Regions from separate parts of the Homo sapiens genome. Here regions 2, 3, 4 and 5 are each linked to region 1. Evidence: promoter capture Hi-C in human tissues and cell types (Jung and others, 2019). All regions are on one chromosome and are shown on one strand. The core of a region is centred on a gene start or on the middle of the fragment in contact, and the rest is flanking DNA. Distances in the headings are between cores, read along the strand shown. Region 1 holds the start of C21orf91 (chromosome 21 open reading frame 91). Region 2 has its middle 58 kb from the start of C21orf91-OT1. Region 3 has its middle 31 kb from the start of LINC03147. Region 4 has its middle 81 kb from the start of BTG3. Region 5 has its middle 76 kb from the start of C21orf91-OT1.

Region 1 (2,700 bases), core at 68-2,567:
TTATTGAAAAGATGGGTAGAATCCAACATGCAAGGTATCTTAGTCGTAGTTACCTAGAATGAGAAATTCGAAGAGAAAAAGCACAGGCTTTTCATTTCAATTAGTGCATCTCAAACTTCGATGAACATAGGAATCTCCTGGCGGTCTTGTTAAAGTGCAAGTATTGATTTAGGAAATCTCGAGTGGGGCCTGAGATTCTACATTTCTAACAGGAAACCAAGTAATGTCAATGTTGTTTGTTCATCTACTACAATTTAGGTGGCAAGGACACAGATCGCTCCTGCGAGGCACAAATGCCATAACTGGAGTGCTAATTTGGCCCAGAAGTTTCCAAGATCTAGACAGTCCATTCCTAACCATCAGTTCAAGAATGCCTACATGTAGATTGACAGGCTAGCCCTCTTTCTATGTGAGTGCAACCAGAACACATACATATGATGCTGTAGAAAATAACATTGATCTTAGGTCAGTAGCCTTCGGTTCAAGTCCCAGCCTTTTTCTAACCAACTGTGATAACCTGGGTCAATTACTCGTAGGCTGCAACATGAGAGAACAGTTCCTGTTTCTCCTCTGTAGGTTACTGTGAGGACTACAATGGAAAATGTAAGTGAAAGTACTGCAAGAACCATACCCTAAAAAAAACAGAATAGCTTAAACAAAAGTCAAGCAAAGAATTTGAGAACCAAGCAGGACCTAAAAATAAGAGGTGGGGCTTCGGGATTTTTCCCGTGGGCGTTGAGGGATGTACCATATTGGGGGCAGGGGCGCCCCACAACAAATAATGTATTTGAAAAGATTCTGTATTTGAAATTATGCCTCTATCATGACACCTGAATATGAACTTTTCCTTCGTTAGATACTTCAACTGGCACTTAACTATAAGTTCAGTGACAGTATTCTGCTTCTTTCTCCTGAAGTCAAAGTGCCACCCACGCACCTCTCCCGTTCTGCCATCCACCCGCGGCTTTCCTACCCCCGCCGCCTGCGGCCCCCGCCCCGGGGCAGTAGTTTGCACTAGGCTGAAGGGAGAGGTGGAACGGATTCGTCTATCTACGCACCTCGAGGAGGGGTGTGTGAGGAGCTACGTTCCAGAGAACGGTAAGAAACTCCGGCCAGGAAACACGGGATCACAGGAGAACTCGAGGCGAAGGTGCGGCGTCGGTGCAGGAGCGGAGGGGCGGACCCACAGCAGCCCGGCGAGCGCGCAGGTGTGCCCGCGGCCGCGCCACCCTCCCCGCAGCCTTTACGGGATGGAGCCGGCGGGAGAGGGCGGGGCCAGGCGCGCGGCGGCCGCCTCTGCTGCGGCCGGAAACAATAGTGGAGGAACCCGAGCCGCACGGAACGGCGGTGGTGGCCCGCGGAGCCGGACGGTAAAGACCCCGCAGCCCTGCTCCCATCCCACCTGAGCCCCGACCCCCAGTCCCATCGTTCCGCCTCCTTCGAGTTCCGAGCCCCGTGGCCCCTCGCGCTGCTGCGCGCCAGGCGCCCCGACGGACAGACCGACGGAAAGACGGACTTGGGTCCGCGACTCCCTGGGGGCGGCCGCGCGCCCCCAACGCCGAAGGCCGGGCCAGGACCCGGCTCCCCGAGACGCTGAGGCTGGGCGGACCGGCCGCCGTGGCCCTCGGACGCTTTCTTCCCTCTGGGAGGAATCCCGGAGCGATGGGACGAGGCTCTCCCGCCCGCCGGGCTCCAGGATGCCGCGGCTCTCCCAGCTCCGGCTTGGGCCCCTCCGGCGGTGCCCGGCCGGTACCGTGAAGCCGCCGCTCGGCCTTCGGTGTAGTTGCCCCGGACACGGCGGGACGCCCTCCCCGGGTATTCGGTACCCACGTGCATTTTGCTGCCGCCGATCTCCGTTCGATGCGAAGCTTCGCAACTCCGAGTTCGCGAGGCGCATCTGAGGTTCCCCCAATGAAGTTAGCAAAGCAGTGTCCCGTGCAGGTCGTTTTTCCTGTTTCTCACAGCGTTAACTAGGTTGACAGAACCTGGTAGCTGAAAAGGCCTCGCTGCTAAGCCCTCTGATTATTCGAGGTTGGGGGACGAAGGAGGAGGACTAGAATGCCGGCAAATCTCTTTCCTTCAGGTGCCACTAACCCAATCAACTATAGGACAAAAAAGACACGGACATAGTGTCACCTATGGCCTGGCTTTAAGTTTTACTAGCTTTGTGTCTTTCCACAGGAAAAGTGCAATGTTGGAGTGCAAGTATGGCGATGCTTGTTTGATGGAGCTTTTGCTTTAAATGAGCTGAACAGCATCCTTATTTCCTAGAAGTTCCCAGTAAAGGGAACTACCCCAAAGGCAGGTTCATGAAATTGTGTAACTTTCCTTTTCTGTTTCTTAATAGGGGCACTATGAACGAAGAGGAGCAGTTTGTAAACATTGATTTGAATGATGACAACATTTGCAGTGTTTGTAAACTGGGAACAGACAAAGAAACACTCTCCTTCTGCCACATTTGTTTTGAGCTAAATATTGAGGGTAAGGACACAGTATAGTTTTGATCTTATGGAATGAATTTAACACAGCTGCTTTGTACTGATTGTAAGGTAAAACTAAAATGTCTTCAATGATTGGAAATTGTGCTAAGTATGAATAGTGTAGAGATTTGTTAAAGATAAGGTTTCTGGAAATGAAGGTGCAGTTAACAGAGTTACGAATTTAAGAGAAATCTTTTTTTTTTAAAGACCCCTGCAACAA
Region 2 (2,700 bases), core at 85-2,584, 85 kb after region 1:
CTGAGATGTTGTCTTTGGAGGCCAGGACAAGATTTGCAGAGCCGGACCTTCAAAGAAAGACAGATACTGAGAGCTACCCACAGATTGGATTTGAGCATTTAGCTGAAAGAGCTCTTGAAAGAATGGACCCCGAAATTTAATCAAAATTAAGCTCTCTTCAGTCATAGTCTTCTCTATTTAGATTTTTTTCTTAAGTATAGGAGAGAGAGAGAGAGAGTGTGTGGGTGTTCTGATGGGAATTTTGTATAATCAAGACCTTGGATAGCCAGAAAGAAATAACACACTAAATTTTTTTGAAAGTCTAATGCCATTCAAGATGGATATCTTTGTTTGAAATAGTAAAAACAAAATATGCTAGCAGGCCCTTTCCCAGATCTTGCTCAACTTGAAAAGTAAATATAGAAAGAAATAGGTTAATTCCTGTCCCAATCAAAATACTGCTTTCTCCTTATTGTATCTGGGGAGTCAAACTATAGGTCAGCATCCAAGAAAAGATTTTAGTCTCCCTCTTCACCTAGAGTTTTCCTTAAGATTCTAAATTCACCAAGTCCCATCTCTTTTCTCATCTATAATTCACATTTGCTTTAATTGTCCTCTGTTCCTCTTTCCCTCTCGCCCTTCCTTCTAACCTCCCTCCCTCACTCTAAAAAAAACAAAACAATAACAATAAAACCGTCCCAATGTGTTGAGGATTTGCTGATCAGTTCACTGTGGTACGAAGCTGTCAATGGACAGTTTTTCTAAAATATACTCTTTTCTGTTCAACTGGACTAGACACTGGTCTACCTGTTATCAAGTTCCAGATTCACAACCCAGTGCTTTTTAGACATCTTTCCAGAATGACTGTGACAAGGAAGCAGCAGAGAGCAGCTCAGTCTTCTCCAGAGGTACCAGGACAAAAACAGGAGGCTGAATGCATTGTGGTGATTCTCAAAGGTACCTCATGGAACTTGAGTAAGCAATTCTACTCTACAAGAGGGGCACACTACCTAGAACAGCAATTAGAGTTGATAAGGCAATCAAATTGAAAAACGAGGTTTATTCTCTCACACACACTGCATTTTTATTCCGAATTACCCTTTTCATTAAAAATAAAATCCTCCCCCAGTATGGGTTGGAACTGTGTCCCCGTCCAAACCTCATGTTGAAATGTAATCCCCAATGCTGGAGGTGGGGCCTGGTGAGAGGTGATTAGCTCATGGGGGCAGTTTCTCATGGTTTATCGCCATTCCCCTTGGAGCTGTCATTGCAATAGTGAGATCTGCTTGTTGAAAAGTGTGTGGCACCTCCCTCCTCTCTCTTCCTCCTGCTCTGGCCATGTGAAGCGCTGGCTCCCCTTTGCCTTCTGCCATGACAGGAATCTTCCAGAAGCCTCCCCAGAAGCAGAAGCTGCCATGCTTCCCAGACGGTCTGCAGAACCACGAGCCAATTAAACCTCTTTTCTTTATAAATTACCCAGTCTCAGGTATTTCTTTACAGCAATGTGAGAACAGACTAATACACATCCCCCCACCTCGATCACCCCAATCTAATCATGAAAACACAAACTCAAACAGAGAAACCTTCTACAAAATACCTGGCCAGTACTCCCTGAATTTGTCAAGATCATGACAAATAAAGAAAGACTGAGAAAGTATTCGGAACAGAACAGACTAAAAGAAATGGCAACAAATGCAATATTATCTCCTGCATTGGATCCTGGAAGAGAAAAAGGACATTCATGGAAAAACTAGTGACATCCAAATAACCTAAGCGTAGTAAAGTACCAATGCTGGGTTTTAGTTTTGACAAATCTGTCATGAGAATGTAAATGGTTAACATTAGAGAAACTGATTGAGGGGTATACAGAAACTCACTACTTATTTTGCTAATTCTCTATTAATCTTAGCTTATTCTAAAATAAAATGTTTATGTACAAAATAAGAAATAAAACCTTCATCTTATTTTCTCCCCTCTGGCAGCTGCAATACTAAAATATAAAATAACATTTTATATTACGCAATGTATTCGTCTCTGATCTATATGATTTTATTTAATACTCAGAACAGCTACATGTGTTGCCAGGCTTGATATTATCGCCCTTATTTTACACGTGAGGAAATGGAAGTTTTGAGAGGTGGTGACTTGCCCATATTTCACTGTGTTGGTTAGGGCACAAGCTAAGCTATTTTTACAAGAAGATTTCGAAAATGCAATAGCTCAAAAAAAATTATTCCTTATTTTTCTCTCCTGAAACAGTCAAAAGATGTCATGAAATTGAGGGCCCAGGCTGCTATCTTGCTGTTCTTGGGTTTGCCCATGTCATTAGGCAAAAACAGGATCCACCACATCTGCACGCCAGCCCAGAGAGAAGAGGAAAGATTAGGAAGCAGGGTCTTATAGTTAAGGACATTGTACACAATTGCCTACATCATTTTAATTTGCAACCCATTAACCAAACTTAGCCACATGGCTACTCCTAACCTAGAGAAGGCTGGGGAATGTAGTCCAGCTGGGGGGCTACAACTCAAGAAGAAAAAGAGAGATAATTATGGGGACAATTAACCAAATCTACCATATTTCCAGGCATCTTAGAAGTGGAAGGGAGGCTTTAATCAAGACCTTCTGATTTCAGGTTTGATGCTATGCCTCTTGCCTGTTGAATATACATTTGTACTCTACTCATCTACATATAAAAGTAAAACAAACAGTAAATGCTGC
Region 3 (2,700 bases), core at 21-2,520, 97 kb before region 1:
TTCCACCTTCTTGTTACTCTCTGTGGTCGCTAGCCCCAGGTTATTTTACTGCTGTGTTCTTCAGGGTTTTTCAGAGAAACAGAACAAATAGTATAAGGATATAGATATAAATACGTGAGAGGGGACTTACCAGGGAATTGGCTCACTCAATTATGGAGGCTGAGAAGTCCCACGATCTGCCATCTTCAAGCTGGAGAACCAGGAAAGCCAGTGAAGTAGCTCAGTCTGAGTCCAAAGGCCTGAGAGCCTGGGCAGGATTCCTGGTGCAAGTCTCAGAGTCCCAAGACCAGAGAACCTGGGGTCCTGATGTCCTATGGCAGGAAAAGAAAGTTGTTTCAGCTCCAGAAGAGAGAGAGTGAATCTGATTTTCTTCTGCCTTTTTGTTCTATCTGGGCCCTCAGCTGATTGGATGGTGCTCGCTCACATTCAGTGAGAGTGGATCTTCCTTACGTAGTCTGCTGGCTCAAATGTCAATCTTTTCCAAAATCGCCCTCATAGACCCAGAAATAATGCTTTACCGGCTCTCTGGATATTACTTAATGCAGTCAAGTGTACACCTAAAATTAGCCTTTACACTGTCCCTTGTTGAGTCTCCTTAACCCTTTCCTCACCTTTGAAAATAATCCCTTCATCAAACTCCCCTCCATTAGCCCATTGGAATATTTGCTATACCTTTCTTGCTGGGACTCTGACTTATACACAGGAAACCTAATAAGAAATGTGCAAAATGTATGTGAAGAAACTATGTAACACTAGTAATGAACAACAACAACAAAAATAGGTATGAACGAATAAAAAAAGCATACCATGTTTCTGAATAGGAAAAATCAACATGATAAAGCTGGAAACCTCCATTAATTCATAACTTTAAATTGATTCTAGTAAAAATACTAGCAATAATTTGAACTACTGAAGCTAATCTTAAAGTTTCTATAAAAATATGAGCAAAAATAATTTTAAAAAATCTAAAAAAAAAACAGTAACAAGGAGGAAGTAGCTCTACAAGTCATAAAATATATTATAAAGCTACAACATTAAGAAAATACAGTGCCTGTTCAAAAATAGATAAATAATTCACTGGGATAGAAAAGAAAGCCCAAATATAGACCTAAATATATAAAATAATTTTTAGTATATCATGTGATGTTGTTTTCAATCAGTTGAAAAAAAGATGAATTTGTAATAAATGACTTGGAGACAATCTGGATATAAACTGGAAAAAAATAAGGTTCTTTTTCTTAATCTCGGTTAATCTGGGCTCCCTTGCCACTTTCCTCTGAGGTTGCATTTAAGTTCTGGGGCTATTTGCGGTATCCAAGCATCAGAAGGAGACCATCTGGCTCTGTGTGTAATCTGAGCCTGGGGACACACACTGGTATACCCATTGCCTCCTCTGAAGGAGACATGCCTCATCCCTGTCTGCATGGCTCCTTCAGGTCCAACACAATCTCTGCTGCTTCTGGGAGACTACTGGCGATTAAGACTCACTCTACATTCATACCATGCTGGGGGTACAGAACATCTGTATGATTGTCTAAGGTGTACCAGGTACCTAGACATGCCATGCGGTCATTTATTGCCAAATATGACACTTAAGGAGAATGGTTAAGCGTTCTTAATAGTCCTATATACCGGAATGTATATCTCTAATGACTGAAGCATTGTTAGGTTATAGGCTTATAAGCTCAAAGACAGGCAGCACAGCGGGTAAGTCAAGATTCATCCAGGCGACAGAGGCAGATGGGATCTTCTCATCTCTCCAGTGTTATTCCTAGGGAGCAAGGCACAGATCACTTTACTCACAAATTTCACAAATTCATCTGAATTTTTCTCTCTGCCTGGAAAAGCTTTAACCTCCTCAAAACCTCAGCTCTGGCTTTTTATTCTCTTTGAGGCTTAGCATTCTGGAAAAGAAAAGCCTGAGAAAGAATGGAAACATATATGTTTTCACCAAACCTTCATGCTCCACATTCCTCTATAGGAAATGACCACAAACAGCACAGCTTCTTGAAGAGAGGAAAGGGAAAAAGGATGAAGGCAAATATCAGGACAGAAAAAGTTGAGATTTCAAAAATCTATAAAGTACCATATTTACCACGTAAAAAGATCACTTAAACAGACATTTTATGTCACAACAAAACCAACTAGAGAATCAACTGGTCCACTTGATAATAATACATAAGCATATCCATGAGTGAAAGAGGAAAAACAGAGATTAAATTCTTAAACTACCTTAGGCTTTGCTGAGGAATTCATTTCAAAGACTTCCACTAATAATGTATACTTCCAATTAGACATACTGAAGTACTTCATTAAATGGGAGAAATCTTCCTCAATTTTTTTTCCTGTTTCCTCTCCACTGCACCATTCTCGAATAGCAGCCTTCCTTTTATTCACCTTCTCTTTACTTGCCCCTTAGGAAGAACTCTCCTCTCCTCCTCATATATGTGCCTCACCTGAAGATGCCACCACTAGGCCATTCAGTCAATGACCCACCCACCATCTCTACCAGTTCCTTCCCCTCCTCACGCCAAAATGTGCAGGCCACTTGTCTTACACCTACTTTCAACCCCTCCCACATGTGTATTCTCGATTTATCTTCCTGCCTTTACCAAAACCTCATTCTTTTTTTTTTTAACTGTAAAATTTGATAGACATCTTTTGCTTTGGAATTGAAGCTCTCCAAAATATGGCACTTAA
Region 4 (2,700 bases), core at 119-2,618, 130 kb after region 1:
GTCGGATCTGCTTGGGTAATCTGATTCAGACCATTCATAATGGGTCCCCGGAATCTTCCCAAGAAATTCATATGATTAGCCCATGTTGGGAACTACTACTTTAGAGAATGGAGTAAGTCATTCTTAGTCTTTACCCGCTTGCGTTACCAATATCTAAAATGGGAGCCAGGCACAGTGGCTCATGCCTGTAATCCCAGAACTTTGGGAGGCCAAAGCAGGCAGATCACTTGGGGTCAGGAGTTCAAGACCAGCCTGGCCAACATGGTAAAAACCCATGTCTACTAAAAATATGAAAATTAGCTGGGTGTGGTGATGCACACCTGTAGTCCCAGCCGCTCAAGAGGCTGAAGCAGAATGTGGGGAAAAGAAAAAGAGATCAGATTGTTACTGTGTCTGTGTAGAAAGAAGTAGACATAGGAGTCTCCATTTTGTTCTGTACTAAGAAAAATTCTTCTGCCTTGAGATGCTGTTAATCTGTAATCTTACCCCCAACCCTGTGCTCCCTGAAACATGTGCTGTGTCAGCTCAGGGTGAAATGGATTAAGGGCTGTGCAAGATGTGCTTTGTTAAACAGATGCTTGAAGTCAGCATGCTCTTTAAGAGTCATCACCACTCCCTAATCTCAAGTACCCAGGGACACAAACACTGCGGAAGGCCGCAGGGACCTCTGCCTAGGAAAGCCAGGTATTGTCCAAGGTTTCTCCCCATGTGATAGTCTGAAATATGGCCTCGTGGGAAGGGAAAGACCTGACCGTCCCCCAGCCCGACACCCGTAAATGGTCTGTGCTGAGGAGGATTAGTAAAAGAGGAAGGAACGCCTCTTTGCAGTTGAGACAAGAAGAAGGCATCTGTCTCCTGCCCATCCCTGGGCAATGGAATGTCTCGGTGTAAAACCCAATTGTACATTCCATCTACTGGGATAGGGGAAAACTGCCTTAGGGCTGGAGGTGGGACACGCGGGCAGCAGTACTGCTGTTTAAGGCATTGAGATGTTTATGTGTATGCATATCTAAAGCACAGCACTTAATTCTTTACCTTGTCTATGATGCAGAGACCTTTGTTCACGTGTTTATCTGCTGACCTTCTGTCCACTATTATCCTATGACCCTGCCACATCCCCCTCTCCGAGAAACACCCAAGAACGATCACTAAATACTAAGGGAACTCAGAGGCCGGCGGGATCCTCCGTATGCTGAACGCTGGTCCCCTGGGCCCCCGTATTTCTTTCTCTATACTTTGTCTCCGTGTCTCTTTCTTTTCCAAGTCTCTCGTTCCACCTAACGAGAAACACCCACAGGTGTGGAGGGGCAAACCACACCTTCGGCAGAAGAATCGCTTGAATCCGGGAGGCGGAGGTTGCAGTAAGCCGAGATTGCGCCACTGCACTGCAGCCTGGATGACAAAGTGAGTGAGACTCCATCTCTAAATAAATAAATAAATAAAATGAATAGGTTTGGCCTTGTAGAGTTCCTGAACGAGGCAGGAAGTGGGCTGGTTATCTCGTATCCATCAGAGTGCAGGCTCTGGGCTTAGTCCTGCTATTACTGTGCATTGCCTGAGTGCTTGGGCAGTTCATGACCACTGGGGCTCCAGCCTTCTCCCATCCTTCCCCACATGTGCCCAGTGTACATAGCTGGGCTCCTGACTCAACATCATCAGCAGCGACCCAGTCTTCCCCAAAGCTGGCAGCTGCAGGAAGAACTCTTAATTACTTGACTGGGGCCTAACGATCTGCCAAACCCTGACACTCCCTTTTCTGTGGGCTGAGTCCTGGCCATTAGTGAAGGTCTTAACCCAAAATATGGACAACCCCAGAGAAAACAGTTGTTGCAAACAGAGAGTTATGCAAACCAAGGTTTTCAGCAAGTGGATGACATTTTGGGGTTTATGTTTCAGGAGGATGAATTATTAAAAAAAAAAATAGGGGGAAATGCAGCAAAGCATTTAGAAACTGGTGTCGGCCGGGTGCGGTGGCTCACGCCTGTAATCCCAGCACTTTGGGAGGCCGAGGCGGGTGGATCACGAGGTCAGGAGATCGAGACCATCCTGGCTAACACGGTGAAACCCTGTCTCTACTAAAAAAAACATACAAAAATTAGCCGGGCGCGGTGGCGGGCACCTGTAGACCCAGCTACTCGGGAGGCTGAGGCAGGAGAATGGCGTGAACCTGGGAGGCAGAGCTTGCAGTGAGCCGAGATCCCGCCACTGCACTCTAGCCTGGACGAAAGTGCGAGACTCTGTCTCAAAAAAAAAAAAAAAAGAAAAAAGAAACTGGTGTCATAGTTTAGGGAAAAAGACAGTGAAGGAATAATTTCTCAAAGTAGTGGCAGAGAGAATGGAGAGGAAGGGACTGAGAACTTGGTCACAGATTAGAGGCAGACGGGACAAAGGCAAAGATGGTGCCAAGATATCTAGTTTTTATAAAGCAACATTTTAGCTAGATCAGCTATATTGCTTTTGCATCATTTGTTACCTATTTTTTAACCATACTTAAAATGTTCACTCATAGGGAAGTACTATTATTAACCAGTGTCGCTGTGTGTCATAGCCCATCTCTAGAAAGCACTGTAAGGAGAGCCGCATGGAAAACCTTTCTTCTGGCTTAAACAAAGTTCCTCCACCATGGATGTCAAAAGTGCTTGGAATGGTAAAGCAATCATTTAACCACCAAAAGTAACACTATTATTTTCACTTCAAAAT
Region 5 (2,700 bases), core at 138-2,637, 100 kb after region 1:
TACCAAGTGTAAGAGATATTGGTGGAGTCTTGTGGATGTTCTAGATATAAGATCATATCATCAGTGAACAGAAATAATTTGACTTCTTTTCCAAAAAATGTCTTCTTTTTTTTTTTTTTTTTTTTTTTTTGCCTTATGTCTCTGGCCAAGGCTTCCAGTATTATGATATATAAGAGAGGTAAAAGTGTGCATACTTGTCTTCTTCCAGTTCTTAGGGGGAATGCTTTCAACTTCTCCCCATTTAGTATAATATTGGTTGTAGGTTTGTCATACACTGCCTTTATTATTTTGAGGTATACTCCTTCTGTGTCTAGTTTGTCAAGTGTTTTTATTATGAAGGGATTTTGAATTTTATCAAATGCTTTTTTTTGCATCTATTGAGGTAATCATCTGGTTTTCATCCTTAATTCTGTTTATGTGATGAATCACATTTATTGATTATGTGTGTTGAACTGTCTTTGTACCCCTGGAATAAAACTCGCTTCATCATGGTGTATTATCTTTTTTATATATTGTTGGGTTGGGTTTGCTAGTATTTTGTTGAGGACTTTTCCATCTACGTTCATCAGGGATATTGGTCTGTAGGTTCTTTTGTTGTTGTGTCCTTGTCTGGCCTTAGTATCAGGGTGATCCTGGCCTCATAGAATGAGTTAGGGAATTGGGCCAGGCATGGTAGCTCACTTAAATAATCCCAGAACTTTGGGAGGCCGAGGCAGGGGGATCACTTGAGGCCAGGAGTTCAAGACTAGCTTGGACAACATGGCGAAACCCTGTCTCTTCCAAAGAAAAAAAATGCAAAAATTAGCCGGGCATGGTGGCACATACCTGTAATCCCAGCTATTTGGGCGGCAGAGGCATGAGAATTGCTTGAACCCAGGAGGAGAGTGAGATTCTATCTCAAGGAAAAGAAAAAAAAAATTAAAAAGAATGAGTTAGAGATAACTTCCTCCTCCTTGATTTTTTAGAACAGTTTCTGGAGGATGGGTACCAGTTCTTCTTTGTACATTTGGTAGAATTCGCCTGTGAATCCATTCAGTCCTGGTCTTTTTTTATTGTTGCTGGGAGGGTTTTTCATTACTGATCTCACTACTCATTATTGGTCTGTTCATAATTTCTATTTCTTCCCAGTTCAATCCTAGAAGGTTGTATGTTCCAGGAATTTATCCAATTTCTTTAGGTTTTCTAGTTTGTGAGCATACAGTTGTTTATAAATCTCTGATGATCTTTTGTATTTCTGTGGTCTCAGCGGTAATATCTTCTTTTTTATTTCTGATTGTGTTTATTTGGATCTGCCCTCTTCTTTTTTTCTTAGTCTAGCTAGTGGTTATCAATTTCATCTTTTCAAAGAACAAACTTTTTGTTTCATTGATCCACTGGGTTTTGTTTTTGGTCTCAATTTCATTTAGTTCTCCTCTGATCGTTGTTATTTCTTTTCTTCTGCTAGCTTTGGGTTTGGTTTGTTCTTGTTTTTCTAGTTGCTTGAGATGTGACATTAGGTTGTTAATTTGTGATCTGTCTATTTTTGTGTGTGTTTTGTGTAGGCATTCAATGCTATAAACTTCAATAGGCCCTAAATCTTATGATTGATGTCCTCATAAGGGGAAAGGGAGTTGAAGACACTCCCTGAAGACACACATAAATGGAGATGGCCATGTGAAGTTGGAGGCAGAGATTGAAGTGATGTGTCTATAAGTCATGAACGCCAAGGATTGCCAGAAGCTACCAGAAGCTAAAAGACAGGCATAGAGCAAATTCTTTCTCACATCCTCCAGAATGAACCAATCCTACTAACACCTGGATTTCAGACTTCCAACCTCTAGAACCATGAAAGAATAAATTTTTGTTGCTTTAAGCCACCCAGTTTTGTGGTATTTTGTTATGGTAGCCCTAGGAAGCTCATAGGGGAATGCCATTCCAATATCCAAAAAGCAACGCCAATAATTAGTTTAAAATTTTGATCTGAAACTGAGGAATTACTCTAGTAAAGGCTCTTAGCCAGAACCTGTAATGATTAGGATAAATATCCTTGATTATATCCCTCCCAACCATCATCCCCTAGAAAATATGGGTATCCACATTTGTTGTTGAGGGTAGTCTATGAGGCCAGGCACGGTGGCTCACATCTATAATCCCAGCACTTTGGGAGGCTAAGGCAGGTGGATCACTTGAAATCAGGAGTTCGAGACCAGCCTGGCCAACATGGTGAAACATGTCTCTACTAAAAATACAATAATTAGCTGGGCATCTTGTGCCTGTAGTCCCAGCTACTTGGGAGGATGAGGCAGGAAACTGCTTGAACCCAGGAGGTGGACGTTGCAGTGAGCTGAGATCATGCCACTGCACTCTAGTCTGGGTGACAGAGCAAGTCCCTGTCTCAAAAAAAATAGTCTATGAGATCTCAAATATTCTCTTTGGCAATCTGAGAATTGAGAAAAGAAAGACATAAAATTAAGAGATGTTAAAAAGAAAACAAGATATGACAGAGAGCATTGAGAAAGTTGTTTTACCAGAACACTCCAAATTCTGCTTCAAAGGGCAGAGAAGCTTTTATTATGTTTGAGATTGGTGTGTTATTTGACCACCTGACTATTGTAGCTGCTCAGAAGTCTCTTAGAGATTTCCTCAAATTCAGTCAACACTTTTTAAGAAGGTCTGGAAGATAACCTTTTAGGCCTTTTCTGGAATGTAAACATCATTATC

What was found. Contacts are between HindIII fragments. The study calls those that stand out against the background at their distance.
Region 2: a contact is called between a fragment that was not itself captured here and the fragment with the promoter of C21orf91 in region 1, in 4 of the 25 tissues and cell types used here (bladder, lymphoblastoid cells, mesendoderm cells and 1 more).
Region 3: a contact is called between a fragment that was not itself captured here and the fragment with the promoter of C21orf91 in region 1, in 2 of the 25 tissues and cell types used here (dorsolateral prefrontal cortex and spleen).
Region 4: a fragment that was not itself captured here is called in contact with the fragment with the promoter of C21orf91 in region 1 in 2 of the 25 tissues and cell types used here (aorta and lymphoblastoid cells).
Region 5: a fragment that was not itself captured here is called in contact with the fragment with the promoter of C21orf91 in region 1 in 2 of the 25 tissues and cell types used here (lymphoblastoid cells and spleen).

What each region holds. Positions count from the first base shown.
Region 1 is chr21:17,817,973-17,820,672 of GRCh38, reverse strand. It overlaps C21orf91 (chromosome 21 open reading frame 91), which reads left to right and starts at 1,317. Exons shown (of 5, transcript NM_001100420.2): 1 at 1,317-1,370; 2 at 2,348-2,481. The coding sequence starts at 2,355. The region is part of intron 2 of LOC124900465 (a long non-coding RNA gene); the gene reads right to left. RefSeq lists an enhancer at 623-672 and a silencer at 923-1,702. The HindIII fragment of the contact is 15,791 bases long and covers 1-2,700 here.
Region 2 is chr21:17,732,734-17,735,433 of GRCh38, reverse strand. No RefSeq gene overlaps it. Among named protein-coding and RNA genes, the nearest start is that of C21orf91-OT1, 58 kb to the left of the region's middle. The HindIII fragment of the contact is 6,428 bases long and covers 1-2,700 here.
Region 3 is chr21:17,914,831-17,917,530 of GRCh38, reverse strand. It overlaps a transcript of CHODL not described here. Among named protein-coding and RNA genes, the nearest start is that of LINC03147, 31 kb to the right of the region's middle. The HindIII fragment of the contact is 4,822 bases long and covers 1-2,700 here.
Region 4 is chr21:17,692,839-17,695,538 of GRCh38, reverse strand. No RefSeq gene overlaps it. Among named protein-coding and RNA genes, the nearest start is that of BTG3, 81 kb to the right of the region's middle. The HindIII fragment of the contact is 9,859 bases long and covers 1-2,700 here.
Region 5 is chr21:17,715,069-17,717,768 of GRCh38, reverse strand. No RefSeq gene overlaps it. Among named protein-coding and RNA genes, the nearest start is that of C21orf91-OT1, 76 kb to the left of the region's middle. The HindIII fragment of the contact is 7,162 bases long and covers 1-2,700 here.